Linked DNA regions of Homo sapiens: regions 1, 2, 3 and 5 are each linked to region 4. The links are contacts of gene promoters, found by promoter capture Hi-C in blood cells and fetal thymus (Javierre and others, 2016). All regions are on one chromosome and are shown on one strand. The core of a region is centred on a gene start or on the middle of the fragment in contact, and the rest is flanking DNA. Distances in the headings are between cores, read along the strand shown. Region 1 overlaps ERMP1 (endoplasmic reticulum metallopeptidase 1). Region 2 holds the start of ERMP1 (endoplasmic reticulum metallopeptidase 1). Region 3 has its middle 54 kb from the start of ERMP1. Region 4 holds the start of INSL6 (insulin like 6). Region 5 overlaps RIC1 (RIC1 partner of RAB6A GEF complex).

What was found. Contacts are between HindIII fragments. The CHiCAGO score rates a contact against its expected background, and 5 or more counts as called.
Region 1: a contact is called between a fragment that was not itself captured here and the fragment with the promoter of INSL6 in region 4, in 1 of 17 cell types (naive B cells). The highest score is 5.6, in naive B cells.
Region 2: a contact is called between the fragment with the promoter of ERMP1 here and the fragment with the promoter of INSL6 in region 4, in 2 of 17 cell types (naive B cells and total B cells). The highest score is 7.8, in naive B cells.
Region 3: a fragment that was not itself captured here is called in contact with the fragment with the promoter of INSL6 in region 4 in 1 of 17 cell types (naive B cells); the score reaches 5.5 in naive B cells.
Region 5: a contact is called between a fragment that was not itself captured here and the fragment with the promoter of INSL6 in region 4, in 1 of 17 cell types (naive B cells). The highest score is 6.7, in naive B cells.

What each region holds. Positions count from the first base shown.
Region 1 is chr9:5,795,301-5,798,000 of GRCh38, reverse strand. ERMP1 (endoplasmic reticulum metallopeptidase 1) reads left to right here. Exons shown (of 15, transcript NM_024896.3): 13 at 69-184. Among named protein-coding and RNA genes, the nearest start is that of ERMP1, 36 kb to the left of the region's middle. The HindIII fragment of the contact is 2,635 bases long and covers 55-2,689 here.
Region 2 is chr9:5,831,719-5,834,418 of GRCh38, reverse strand. ERMP1 (endoplasmic reticulum metallopeptidase 1) reads left to right here and starts at 1,302. Exons shown (of 15, transcript NM_024896.3): 1 at 1,302-1,729. The coding sequence starts at 1,392. RefSeq lists silencers at 1,216-1,435, 1,516-1,735. The HindIII fragment of the contact is 2,395 bases long and covers 89-2,483 here.
Region 3 is chr9:5,777,968-5,780,667 of GRCh38, reverse strand. It overlaps a transcript of RIC1 not described here. Among named protein-coding and RNA genes, the nearest start is that of ERMP1, 54 kb to the left of the region's middle. The HindIII fragment of the contact is 1,726 bases long and covers 413-2,138 here.
Region 4 is chr9:5,184,228-5,186,927 of GRCh38, reverse strand. INSL6 (insulin like 6) reads left to right here and starts at 1,289. Exons shown (of 2, transcript NM_007179.3): 1 at 1,289-1,614. The coding sequence starts at 1,326. The HindIII fragment of the contact is 2,408 bases long and covers 907-2,700 here.
Region 5 is chr9:5,755,733-5,758,432 of GRCh38, reverse strand. RIC1 (RIC1 partner of RAB6A GEF complex) reads right to left here. Exons shown (of 26, transcript NM_020829.4): 16 at 2,061-2,221; 17 at 982-1,120. Among named protein-coding and RNA genes, the nearest start is that of ERMP1, 76 kb to the left of the region's middle. The HindIII fragment of the contact is 1,917 bases long and covers 443-2,359 here.

The DNA of each region.
Region 1 (2,700 bases), core at 123-2,622, 610 kb before region 4:
GTTCTGTGAGTTACAGATAGCCATCAAATAATAAAGCACCCTAAAACTGAAGCTTCCTTTCTAAATAGGAAAAACTGGTATCTTCCTGCCCCAGAAGTTTCTCCAAGAAATCCTCCTCATTTCCGACTCATATCCAAAGAACAGACACCTTGGGATTCTATAAAATTGACTTTTGAAGCAACAGGTAAGTCATATAATAGTTTTTTCTCCCCTCCTTTATTTCTTAAACTTGTTAATAAGTGGCATGTATGTTTTTCCCTCAGATATATCACAGGAACCAGCAACTTAGGAAGAGCCTGTGATGTTTCTAAAATCAATTGAAGCTGGTTATGACTTCTTTTTTTTTTTTTTTTGAGATGGAGTCTCGCTCTGTCGCCCAGGCTAGAGTGCAGTGGTACGATCTCGGCTCACTGCAACCTCCGCCTCCTGGGTTCAAGTGATTCTCCTGCCTCAGCCTCCTGAGTATTTGGGATTACAGGTGTGTGCCACCATGCCTGGCTAATTTTTGTATTTTTAGTAGAGACAGGGTTTCACCATGTTGGTCAGGCTGGTCTTGAACTCCTGACCTCATGGTCTGCCTGCCTCGGCCTCCCAAAGTGCTGGGATTACAGGTATGAGCCACCACGCCCGGCCAAAGCTGGTTATGACTTCTTAACAAAAATTTAATAGGCCAGGCATGGTGGCTTATGCTTGCTACTCAGGAGGCTGAGGTAGGAGGATTGCTTGAGCCCAGGAGTTCAAGACCAGCCAGGGCAACATAGTGACATCCCGTCTCTACAAAATTAAAAAAAAAAAAATTAGCTGGGCATGTTGGTGCATGCCTGTAGTCTTAGCTACTTGAGAACTTGAGAGGCTGAGCTGGGAGAATCACTTGAGCCCAGGAGGTCAAGGCTGATAGCACCACTGCATTCCAACCTGGGTGACAGAGCAAGACCCTGTCTCAAAAATAAAAATTATTTTTATTTTTTGGAGCAATGTTAAGTTTACAGAAAAATTAAGTAGAAATTATAGAGTTCTCATATCCTGCCCCCCGATTTTCCTCTATTAATGTCTTGCATTAGTATGGTGCATTTGTTAAAACTGATGCACCAGTTTTAACACTGATATATTATTATTAATCGAAGCCTGTTGTTCCCACTCGGGTTCATTCTTCGTGTTGTGTAGTTCTATGGGTATTGAAAAATGTGTGATGCCATGTATCTACCATTACAGTATCATACAGAATAGATTTACCATCTAGAAATGCCCTGTGCTTCACCTATTTATCTCTCTTTTCTTCCCACTCTCCTTAGCAACCATTGGTCTTTTTATTATCTCTGTAGCTTTGCCTTTTCCAGGTATCATATAGCTGGAAGCACAGAGTATGTAGCCTTTTTCGACTGACTTCTTTCACTTAGAAGTATGCATTTAAGGGATCCTCCATATCTTTTTGTGACTTGATAGGCCATTTCTTTTTATTGCTGAATAGTCCGTTGTGTAGATGTACAGCAGTTATCCATATTTGAATAAGGCTGCTATAAAGATTCCTGGGCAGGTTTTTGAACTCATTTGGGTAAATGCTTAGGAGTGTGATTGCTGGATATTATATATGGTAAGCCTATGTTTAGCTTTGTAAGAAACTGCCAAACTGTTCTTTCCATTGACTGATTTCTCTGTTCTTTTGCCCATACCACAACTGTCATGATCACTGTAATTATATAGTTAAGTTTTGAAGTTGGGTAGTATCAGTCTTCCAACTCTTCTTCTCCAGAATTGTGTTTTGTCTTTTGCCTTTCCATGTAAACTTTAGAATCAGTTTGTCAATATTCACAAAATAACTTGTTGGAGTTCTGATTGGGATTGTATTGAGTCTGTAGATCAAGGTGGGAAGAAATGATATTTTAACAATAATGGCTTTTCCTATCCGTGTTGGAATATCCCTCCATTTATTTTTATCTTGTTTGATTTCTTTCATCAGTTCTGTAGTTTTCCTTATAGAATCCTTATATATATTTTGTTAGATTTATTTTTAAGTAGTTATTTTTGGGGGTGCTAATGTATTAATAAATGGTATTGTTCATTGATGGTCTACAGGAAAGCAACTGAGTTTCAGATTATTACCCTCATATCCTGCAGCCTTGCTATAATCACTTATTAGATCTAGGAGATTTGTTTTTGTTTTTGTTTTTGTTTTTGTTTGGTTTATTCTTTAAGAAGATTTTCTTTTCTTTTTCTTTTTCTTTTTTGAGACAGTCTCACTCTGTCACCTAGGCTGGAGTGCAGTGGTACGATCTCGGCTCACGGCAACCTCTGCCTCCTGGGTTCAAGTGATTCTCCCGCCTCAGCCTCCCAAGTAGCTGGGAATACAGGCACCCGCCACCACACCTGGCTAATTTTTGTAATTTTAGTAGAGACAGGGTTTCACCACGTTGGCCAGGCTGGTCTCAAACTCCTGACCTTGTGATCCGCCTGCCTCAGCCTCTCAAAGTGCTGGGATTACAGGCGTGAGCCACCGCGCCCAGCCTATTCTTTTAAGATTCTATGAATAGACAATCTTATCATCTGCAGACAGTTTTATTTCCTCCTTCCTAATATCTATAATTTTTATTTCCACTTCTTGACTTGTTACATTATCTGGGACTTCTAGTTTGATTTTGACAAGGCGTTGTGAGAGGGGACATCTTTGCCTTGTTCCTGATCTAGGCAAGCTTCTGGTTTCTT
Region 2 (2,700 bases), core at 53-2,552, 650 kb before region 4:
CGTGGGGCTTACAGTCTAATGAGGAAGTTATGAAATAGTCACATGCAAACATGGTGCTGTGAGATCCTACAAATAGGGGAAGCAAGCTTAATTAAATTAGGAGATTCTTGCTTGAGGAAGTACCACTTAATCTGAGATTTAAAGGATAACTAGGAGTTAAAAAGACAATGAGGAGAGAGAAGAACACTCCAGGTAATTCAAACAGCATGTGAGAAGATCCTATTGTAGAAGGAAAGATGCGTGCAGGAAGTCTTTGAAAGAGGCCAGTGTGGCTGGAGAGCTGGAAATAAGAAGCATCCTGGTGTCAGAGGAGCCTGAGAGGTGGGCAAGAGCAGGACTATAGGGCATTGTATGAAATCTGACATATGTGCTAAGTCAAAATCCGGCAGTGTGCTCTCCCAGTTGGTCTCTAGGTTAATGCTCATGCTAATGTAGCAACTCCAAGCTAGGGACAAAAAACCTTGGAGCAGAGAGGCTCATGGGTACCGGCAAGCTGGAAGAAGACTAGATAATCACTAGGATCTGCACTGAAACCAAGGCTCTGCTGCTTAACCGCCCCAGAGAGTCGTCAAGTGAAGAATGGCCTTTCTGAACCTTCACTTGCAGAGTGCTAATGTAGTAGTGGAACAGAATGCTGTTTTGGGAGCCCATGAAATTAGATTTACATTCTTCATCTGTTATCTCTACGTTTCTCAGGTTATAAAATGGGAACAAAGATATTTCCTTTTAAGTATTGTTAAAGATAATTAAATAAGATGATGTATTAAAGGACTTGACCTAGCGCTTAGCTCATAGCAGGTATTCAATAAATAATAGCCATTATTTTTCTTTATCTGTTAAATGGAGACAGTAATAGCACAGATTAAGTTGCTGAGTTATGAAGATCTGATTAGATTATGCATGTGAAAGCAATAGGCCGGGCCTCCTCTGCGTAATCTTATTTCTAATTTTAAGAGCCAGGAACCCACTTTTTTGGAGCCTGATGTTCTAATATTCCTTCCTTACGAAAGCCAGGTCATTGCTTTTTTCATCTGCCTGATGCACTGTAAGAGCCTTGTGTGTTCTTTCAAAAGCGATCTCTCATTTTTCTCGTTTTGGGTTTTTAGGTGTCTTTACATTTGGCAATCTCCGTCCTACAGAGGGCTGGAAAAGCCCTGCGGGAGACGGCATATCCACCACCCGCTGCTGGGTCGGCCCTGCAGCTGTGTGCACCCGAGAACTGCCAAAGAAGCTGGGTCTTGGCGCGGCGGGACGGGCCAATCAGAAGAAGTTTGGCCCTCTGCAGTTTCCGTCCGCTCACTAGGAGGCGCTGCGGCAGCGACGGCGGCGTCGGCGGCGGCCGGGGCTGTCGCGGGTTGGGGCGGTTGGGCTGGCAGCTGAGGCTCGTGGCCATGGAGTGGGGTTCTGAGTCGGCTGCTGTGAGGCGGCACCGCGTCGGAGTAGAGCGTCGAGAGGGAGCGGCGGCCGCGCCACCGCCGGAGAGGGAGGCCCGAGCGCAGGAGCCTCTGGTGGATGGGTGCAGCGGCGGCGGGAGGACGCGGAAGAGGAGCCCCGGGGGTAGCGGCGGCGCGAGCAGGGGCGCGGGGACCGGGCTGTCTGAGGTGCGCGCCGCGCTGGGGCTCGCGCTCTACCTGATCGCGCTGCGGACGCTGGTGCAGCTCTCGCTGCAGCAGCTCGTGCTACGCGGGGCCGCTGGACACCGCGGGGAGTTCGACGCGCTCCAAGCCAGGTACCGGCCGCTCCCTCCTGGCACGGCCCGCGCGTCCGTTTGCGGCTCCTGCGCAGGCTCCGGGGCACCGCACCTGTGTGCACCCGCCCCTGCCGGACCGCTGGGACTCGCTGACCCCTCCCAGGCTGCACGTGGGGTGGGGTGACCTTGCTTGTCCTTCTTCTGGGGTCTGAATTGCCGGGACTTGGGGCTTGCCTGTCCCCGGTTAAGCTCGTGGTGCAGATTGGGGTTGCCAGGTAGATTGAACCTGCTTTCCACTGTCTGCCCTTCGTGCAGATGGTTGGTTGTGAGTCGTCTCCCCATATTCTGGAACAGCTTCCCCTTTTTACCTTGCTTAGCCCTTCTGCTTTCCAGATGGAAATTTGTGTACCTAGACTGTTGTATAAATTCGCTTTGGGGGCGGGGAGTTTTGGAAGGCGCTAGTGCACTGTTCTAACTTTCTGAGGGTTACAGCCCCCACATCTGAAGGCTATAGAAACTCTTTCTGGAACACCGCCCAGTCAAAATTTGGTATGCAGTCTGATAAATTCTCAGATCCCTGCAGTTTATCTTTAGGCCCCTTGGATTAGTGACTGTGTAAGGTTTGACTTTTTTTTTTTTTTTTAAGACCTTTAAGAATGCTAGGAAAGGTGATTAAGTCAAAGATATTGTAACCCAGGTGTGTCAAAGCTCATGAAGTGTTAAGCTGGCGTCAAGTTTTCAACAGCTACTGTGTTCTAAAAAGTTTTTGCTAGAATGCAAAGTGTTGCAAGCTTATTAAGGACTTTCTGAAACGTCTCCCACCCCCACTTCCAGCTTTCCCCACTTGGAATGCAGTGAAAAGACAAAAACAGTTTTGTTTTCATTAGGGGTACAGTTGGTTTTGGCCTGAATTGAAGTTATTAGACCTTGGGTGTATGCTAGGAGGGCTAGGTCCATCAAAAGTTTCCCCCGCCCGCCTTATTTAACCTCTTGACTTGATTATTTTTGCT
Region 3 (2,700 bases), core at 26-2,525, 590 kb before region 4:
GAGGAGTTTGTTATTACCCACCTTCTGAAGCTTACTTCTGTCAATTTGTCAAACTCATTCTCTGTCCAGTTCTGTTCCCTTGCTGGCAAGGAGTTGTGATCCTTTGGAGGAGAAGAGGTGATCTGCTTTTTGGAATTTTCAGCCTTTTTTTGCTGTTTTTTCCTCATCTTCGTGGATTTATCTACCTTTGAAGTTGGTGACCTTCAGCTGGGTTCTCTTGAGTGGACGTCCTTTTTGTTGATGTTGATAGTATTCCTTTCTGTTTGGTGGTTTTCCTTCTTAACATTCAGGCCCTCTGCTGCAGGTTGGCTGGAGTTGACTTGAGGTCCAGTCCAGACCCTGTTTGCCTGGGTATCACTGGTGAAGGCTGCAGAACAGCAAAGATTGCTGCCTGTTCCTTCCTCTGGAAGCTTCGTCCTACAGGGGTACCCGCCAGATGCCAGCTAGAGCTCTCCTGTATGAGGTGTCTGTTGGCACCTACTGGGAGGACCCACTTGAGGAGTTAATCTGTCCTTTATCAGAGCTCCAATGCTGTGCTGGGAGATCTGCTGCTCTCTTCAGAGCTGCCAGGCAGGGACGTTTAAGTAAGTCTGCTGAAGCTGCGCCCACAACTGCCCTTTGTCCAAAGTGCTCTGTCCCAGGGAGGTGGGGGTTTTATCTGTTAGTCCCTGACTGGGGCTGCTGCCTTTTTTTCAGAGTTGCCCTGCCCAGAGAGGAGGGAATCTAGAGAGGCAGTCTGGCTGCAGTTGCCTTGCTGAACTGCAGTGGGCTCCGCCCATTTTGAACTTCCCAGTGGCTTTGTTTACACTGTGAGGGTAAAACTGCCTACTCAAGCCTCAGCAATGGTGGACGCCCCTCCCCCCATGTTGGAGCATCCCAGGTCAAGCTCAGACTGCTGTGCCAGCAGCAAGAATTTCAAGCCAGTGGATCTTAGCTTGCTGGGCTCTGTGGGGGTGGGACCCACCGAACCAGACCACTTGGCTCCCTGGCTTCAGCCCCCTTTCCAGGGGAGTGAATGGTTCTGACTGGTGTTTCAGGTGCCACTGGGGTATGAAAAAAAAAAACTGCGGCTAGCTTTGTGTCTGCCCAAAACAGCCATCCAGTTTTGTACTGGAAACCCAGGGCCCTGGTGGCGTGGGCACTGGAGGGAATCTCCTGGTCTGCGGGTTGCAAAGACTGTGGGAAAAGCACAGTATCTGGGCTGGATTGCAAGATACAGTCCCTAACAGTCCCTAATGGCTTCCCTTGGCTGGGAGAAGGAGTTCCCCGACCCCTTGCGCTTCCCAGGTGAGGCAACGAACTACCCTGGCTTTGGCTTACCCTCACAGGGCTGCACCCACTGTCCAACCAGTCCCAGTGAGATGAACCAGGTACCTCAGCTGGAAATGCAGAAATCACCCGCCTTCTGTGTCGATCTCGCTGGGAGCTGCAGACCAGAGCTGTTCCTATTCAGCCATCTTGCCAGCAATCCCAGTTATGGCTCTTAATGTCTGTTTTTAGTTTAAATACGTAGGGATTTTTGGAGTGTATCAGTGTATTTTTTGACACTTCTACTTCCATATTTGACTTGTAAAAACATAACATGTTGGTAATAATTTTTTTTTTCCTCCAGTTTGGCTCTACAGCATGACCAAATGGAATTTATGCCAGGAATGCAAGGTTGGTTTAACAGAAAGTTGGCCAGGTGCAGTGGCACATGCTTAATTTCAGCACTTTGGGAGGCCAAGGTGGGTGGATTGCTTAAGCCCAGGAGTTTGAGACTGGCCTGGACAACATGGCAAAACCCTGACTCTACTAAAAACACAACATTTAGCAGGGCATGGTGGTGTGTGCCTGTGGGCCCAGCTACTATAGAAACTGAGGTAGGAGGATGGCTTGAGCTCAGGAGGTTGAGGCTGCAGCAAGCCATGACTGCGCCACTTCCTTCCAGCATGGGTGACAGAGCAAAACTCTGTCTTAAAACAAAAACATTTGAAAATCAGTGTAATGTACCATATTAATAGAATAAAGGATAAAAACCACATGACTACTTCAGTAGATGCAATGTATGTTTGTTGAGTGTTTTTATCATGGAAGGGATTTGGATTTTTGTAAAAGACAAACTATACAGAAGGCAACATCCTCAACCAGATAAAGCTTATCAATAAAAAACCCACAGCTAGCATCATAATTAGTGATGAGAGAAAGCTTCTCCCTAAGATCAGAAGACAAGGATATCCACTATTGCCACCTAATAAGCATTGTACTAGTGGCTCTAGCCAGGACCGTTTGGCAGGAGAAAGAAAGAAAAGGCATCCAGATTGAAAAGGAAGAGTTCAAACTATCTCTGGTTGCAAACAACATGACCTTCAATGTAGAAAATCCTAAGGAATCCACAAAAAAGAAAAAGTTTGATGTTGCATGATGCAATGTCAATATACAGAAGCAATTGTATTTATATACACAATCCAAAAACAGGAAATTCCATTTTTTTTACAGTAGCAATACTTAGAAATAAATCTAACAAAAGTATGAGACTTAGCAAAAATTATAATCCACTGTTAAAAGACATTAAAAACCCAATAAATGGAAAGACATCTCATGTTCATGGACTGGAAGGCTTAATATGGCAATATTCTCCACATTTGCTTTATGTCATGAATACAACGCTTATGAAAATCCCAACTGCCTTTATTTTAGTATAGAAATTGACAAGCTGAT
Region 4 (2,700 bases), core at 40-2,539:
AGGACTCATGGCCCACTATAGTTTGGACATAAGTTATTTTTTAAGGAAGGTGATTAAATTTTACTAATCTATATTATATCAACCATTTAAAAAATCCAATTGGCAGTTAATTTAACAGCATTCATGGATGCCACTGGGAAGCAGGGAAAAGATAGGGAAACGGAAAATTAAGAAAAAGACATAGAGTCAGAAGACAGAAAAGAAAGGGAGAAAAAAATAAAATTGTATAGGGAAATGGTGAGATCACTGATAAGCTTGCACCTGTGGCTTCAGCATCCTGAACCTTATTCCTGAGACAGCCACCGAATGCCCTCTTGTGGCCGATAGTACATCCTTCCACGCCAACACACTAGTAACACAGAACTTCATTTAAAATGATAAAGCTACCTATGCCGATTGCGCTTCGCTTCCCTGCCCCTTCCCTCCTAACTGAGCAAAATTATCTCACCTAAATGAGCATTTCATGCTGCATGCTGTTATTCTTACAAGGCAAATCCTCTAGGGGTCCCTGTCACAAGTTAATTTGGTAATACACAATCCTCTACATTATCTAACCGAAAGAACCAGATTTCCATCCCAGGTACCTCAAGACAGCGTCCCTACTTCTTTTTTCTGGAGATTGAGGCTAAGGCCCATGCCTCCCTGTGAACCAGTAGGATTTTTCTGAAGAAGCTTTGAACCTGACTAAACGCACATGGCCATATGCAACACTTAAACGTTTCACCACATATTTGATTGCCAGCTAAATGCCAGATCCCGGGGTACGATGGAAAGCAAGAACAGACGCAGGCCCTTGCCTTCATGAAGCGGGGGTCTCAGGAAAGAGGTTACACGCCCACAAATGGAAACAGGTCGATTAACACCGTGAAAGAGATGACAGGGGGTTTCTGTGAGGGAGACGAAGCTTTATTAACAACCTGGCAAACAAGAACGAGAAACGCATTCCAGGTGGAGGGAGCAACACTTTTTAACCTACGTTATCAGGTAACAGGGATCCTATGTTCTCACGCTTGGTGAGGAATCTCCCATTGAGGAAGGAAAGAAAAATGAATCAAACTAGGGGGTGGCGGGGTAGTGAGGGGATTTTTGGCTTTCATTTTAGGAGCCAGGGCCTGCTACCTTCGACCACCTGAGACCCCTGAGCTGGCGGGAAAGCCTTGACGCAGCCGGCGCGCGCCTTCCCTTGAAGTTCTGGCGACGCCCCCACGCGCTCGGAATTCCGCAGTGTTTGTGCGCGCCGCTCGGCCTGGCGCAGGCGCAGACAGGGAGCAGGGTCCGGCCGACCGCCATTGCACAACGCGGAGGACTAGCCTGGGGTCACAGGGATGCCGCGGCTCCTCCGCTTGTCCCTGCTGTGGCTTGGACTCCTGCTGGTTCGGTTTTCTCGTGAACTGAGCGACATCAGCAGTGCCAGGAAGCTGTGCGGCAGGTACTTGGTGAAAGAAATAGAAAAACTCTGCGGCCATGCCAACTGGAGCCAGTTCCGTTTCGAGGAGGAAACCCCTTTCTCACGGTTGATTGCACAGGCCTCGGAGAAGGTCGAAGCCTACAGCCCATACCAGTTCGAAAGCCCGCAAACCGCTTCCCCGGCCCGGGGAAGAGGCACAAACCCAGGTAAAAATCGAAACCGAAGGCATGTTTGTTCACCTCTGTATATTTCTTATTCCTGCATTTGCTCTGCCAGAAGGTGAGCTTCCCCAGGAAGTGGAATTTGTGCCTAGTACACAGCTCTTTAAAAAATTGTAAAAAACAGTGTATTGAAAATATACAAAACTTCAATGAAGCGCTTTTTTTTTTAACTTGGAGGAAATAAATGTACACTTGTAAGTCTACATATTTATGTAAGAATGTTGTTCTTTTCTGGAGTGCCAGTCATCTGGCAAACTCCTTTTTGTCCTTCAAAGCCCAACTTAAGTATCATTTTCCCTGTGAAGTCATCATTGACCTTTTCATGGCCAATGGCTCCATTGTCCTTTCTACCACAGTATCTAGCACATAGTTGTATTTGACTGTCGTCATTGGCTACAGAATCAGCCCAACCTTGTAGAAGATAAAAATGCAGAGTACCTTGTTCAAAAAAGCAGGAAAGGGCCATGAAAATAAAGGTAGTAAAATATAAAACTGTTTTCCTTACTTGTCCATATCCCCTGGTCACGTACCAGGAGATAGGCCTGGTCCGTTCTCCTATCAGGCTTCATTTAAGAGTTTACGTACTTGTATTTCATTCACTTAAAGTTTCAAAGGTAAATTTATTCAGAACAACAAAGGAACATTTAAACCAAATGCAAGGCCTGTGTGACTACATAGGTTTCAGTCCCATAAAGTCAGCCCTATATACCATACTGTATTATAGGGACTATTTCATGCATATTTTTGTCTGAAATGCTTAGCAGATGGCCTAGCACATCGCATGTGTTTAATATGCGCTGAATTTATACTTGATGCTTTCAAGCAGTCTGCAGGAAGGATATTCTTGTTCCAGATTCATTGGTATATCTTACTATGTTTTTACATTTTGTGACTAAGACATTTTAGTCCCAGTATGATTTGTCATTTTAAAAGAAATTGCACTTTGTTTATAGTGTATCCATAGGAAGAAGATTACTGCCTTTTACAGTAATTCAGTTGATTTGATTTGGACAAATCTTGTAAAAGTGAAGATTTCTGAAATTAAGGAAATGAGTAAACTATCATGCCAAA
Region 5 (2,700 bases), core at 152-2,651, 570 kb before region 4:
CTGTTTTCTAATTATTTTATGGAGTGTTGAGGTTTGATCGAAGTGCCTCGATAGGAAGTAAAAGACAGACTGCCCAGACAGGGATGACAAATAAATCCACATAGAATTTTCCTCTGACAGTAGGTTCCCAGTTGACATGAAGTTTAGAAACCACTGAAATAGAAAGTTATGCAACGTGGGTCCTGGTCGCCCTACTTCTTACCCTGTTACTTTACCCAGAAACTACGGGATTATACTTTCTCTTTCCTCATAATTAACTAATTATAAAGCCCTTGCTATTCTATACTCATTCTACTTCTTTCCATATCCTTTTTCACTGCCCAAGTTCAGACTGTGAACACCACTGACCTAGATCATTACAATGACCTCCCAGTTGCTCTCCCTACAGTAGTTTTGTCTTACTTCAGTTCATTTTCCTCCTTACAGTAAACATTATAAAGCTTAGATCTAATAATACCTACCTTAAAACACTTTAGACTTAAAGTCTAAAATTATCAATATTATCTACAAGACTCATATCCTCTTTCACTTTCCATGTCCCAGTCACTCTAAAATTCTTCCAATTCCCTGAGTGTGTCATGTTCTGCCTTGTCTATGGGCCTTTGCACTACTGTTCCTTCCACCTGAAAATCCATCCCCTCTTAACTTGGATAATTTCTACTTATTCTCCTAGTTTTAATTTAAATGATACAGAAATCTCTGACTGTTCAGACTATAACAGGTTTTTGTTAAATGCTCTCACAGTAATGTGTACTACTTTTTGGTACACGTAACAGGAACAATTCATTATGTATGTAATTATTTATTTAATGCCTGAGCAGAAACCATGTCTTTTTAATTTGCCACTGCAACCCAGCATTCTCATATAAGGTACATTTTAGACACTTAGTATTTATTTGCCAAACAAATACTTCCTAATATGGACTCAAATACTAAAAACAGAAATGTAAACTCCAAAGACCTTTGATAATGGAGTGGTACCTGCTGTGGCATTTTCAAGGTGATTCCATTCTCTGTACTCACTGATGTCAGAGTGACAGATACCACCAGGAAAGGGTGAGGAATGTAGCGTGACATGGAAACCTCCTGAAGAACTTGAATACCAGCAGTAGTATTTGGACTGTAAAAACAAAAGAAACCCACATACCTCAACAACAATGCTAATAAGATTTTCTTTCTTTTCCACTAGTAATAGTATTAGATTTCATGCTTATGGAAGACTCAGATGTCTTACTACCTATCATCTTCTCCCCATATATCCTTCGATCAGGAAGTTGGCAAGGTTGAGGGGAACCAGAGTATATGGGGATGAGAGAGAAAGAAAGGGAGTAACAAATAGGAGGGAAGACGAAAACTAGGGAAGAAGCTATAAGAATACAAATATTTAAGTGGAAAAAACTAGTGGGTTGAGAAAGAATGATGGTTCAATCATTGAGGCTAGTGAGATGTCTTAATTTTTATCTTGCATTACTTCTCAATCACTGTGCTGTTTCAGTAAATACATACTTCAATTAACCTCTGAGAACAAAAATAAAACTCAAGAGGTGTGGTCTAAATACGTTGCAAGTAGACCAGATGCCAAGACAAATATAAGGCAACGTGCAGCAGCAACAACACTGCTGATTTTTTACTGCCCCAGACTACAGCCATCTAGCTCAGTGGAAATATAAGTCAGTTTGCTAAGGACATGCTTCCTACAGTCTTAAAGTTGTAGAACTCCTTCAAATTCCCACCAAGTATCGAGAGCACCAGGAGAGTCAGTAACCATTTATTTTCAAGGTTGTGAAAAAAAATTTAGTATCTAAGGGTTTACCTCATCCCAAACTAGATTTTTTTCAAATGACTCCAGGAAGATAAGCTAAAGAAGTTAGTGTACGATATTTCTTTTTTTTTTAGCTATTATATCAATATCACTAATTAAAACTCCTTGCTTTTTTTACCTCTAACAAAAACAAGATTGAATATAAAAGTGGAATAACTGTTTTGAGAAAACAAAAACTACAAAAGAGAAACGTGGTAAATAGGAGCAAAAAGTGACTTCTCATATGCCAGATACTTACCCATCAGATTTTCTTTCAATACTGTAAAGGCATATTGAACAGTCTGCTCTAAATACTATTACCATGTCCTGGAAGACACTAAGCAGTAATGTTTCTGCTTGTGCTTTGGTGACATGAGCAAAGGCATTGTCCAGATTTGATGTTCGCAAGTATACTCTAAGCTGAAGAAAACAAAAATGAAGAAAATTATAAAAACAAGATAACTACTAGGGATGACCAAATACTTTAAACATGCTGTTTTTAACTTCCGACTTTTTTTTTTTTTTTTAGTAACAGGAGTTAAAAGAACTATCTAAGCTTTAACAGTAAATGGATTATGTTTACATATTTTTGCAGACTAGGCTCATTCTATGAGTAAGCAAAAAATGAAGTGATCAAAACTGAATGTACTATTATAAAATATTCCTTTTAGACCTGCTTTATTTATTTATTTATTTATTTATTTATTTAAAGACGGGGTCTCACTCTGTTGCCCAGGCTGGAGTGCAGTGGCATGATCTCGGCTCACTGCACCCTCCGCCTTCCGGGTTCAAGCAATTCTGCCACCTCAGCTTCCCAAGTAGCTGGGATTACAGGGGTGTGCCACCATACCTGGATAATTTTTGCATTTTTAATAGAGATGGGGTTTCACCATGTTGGC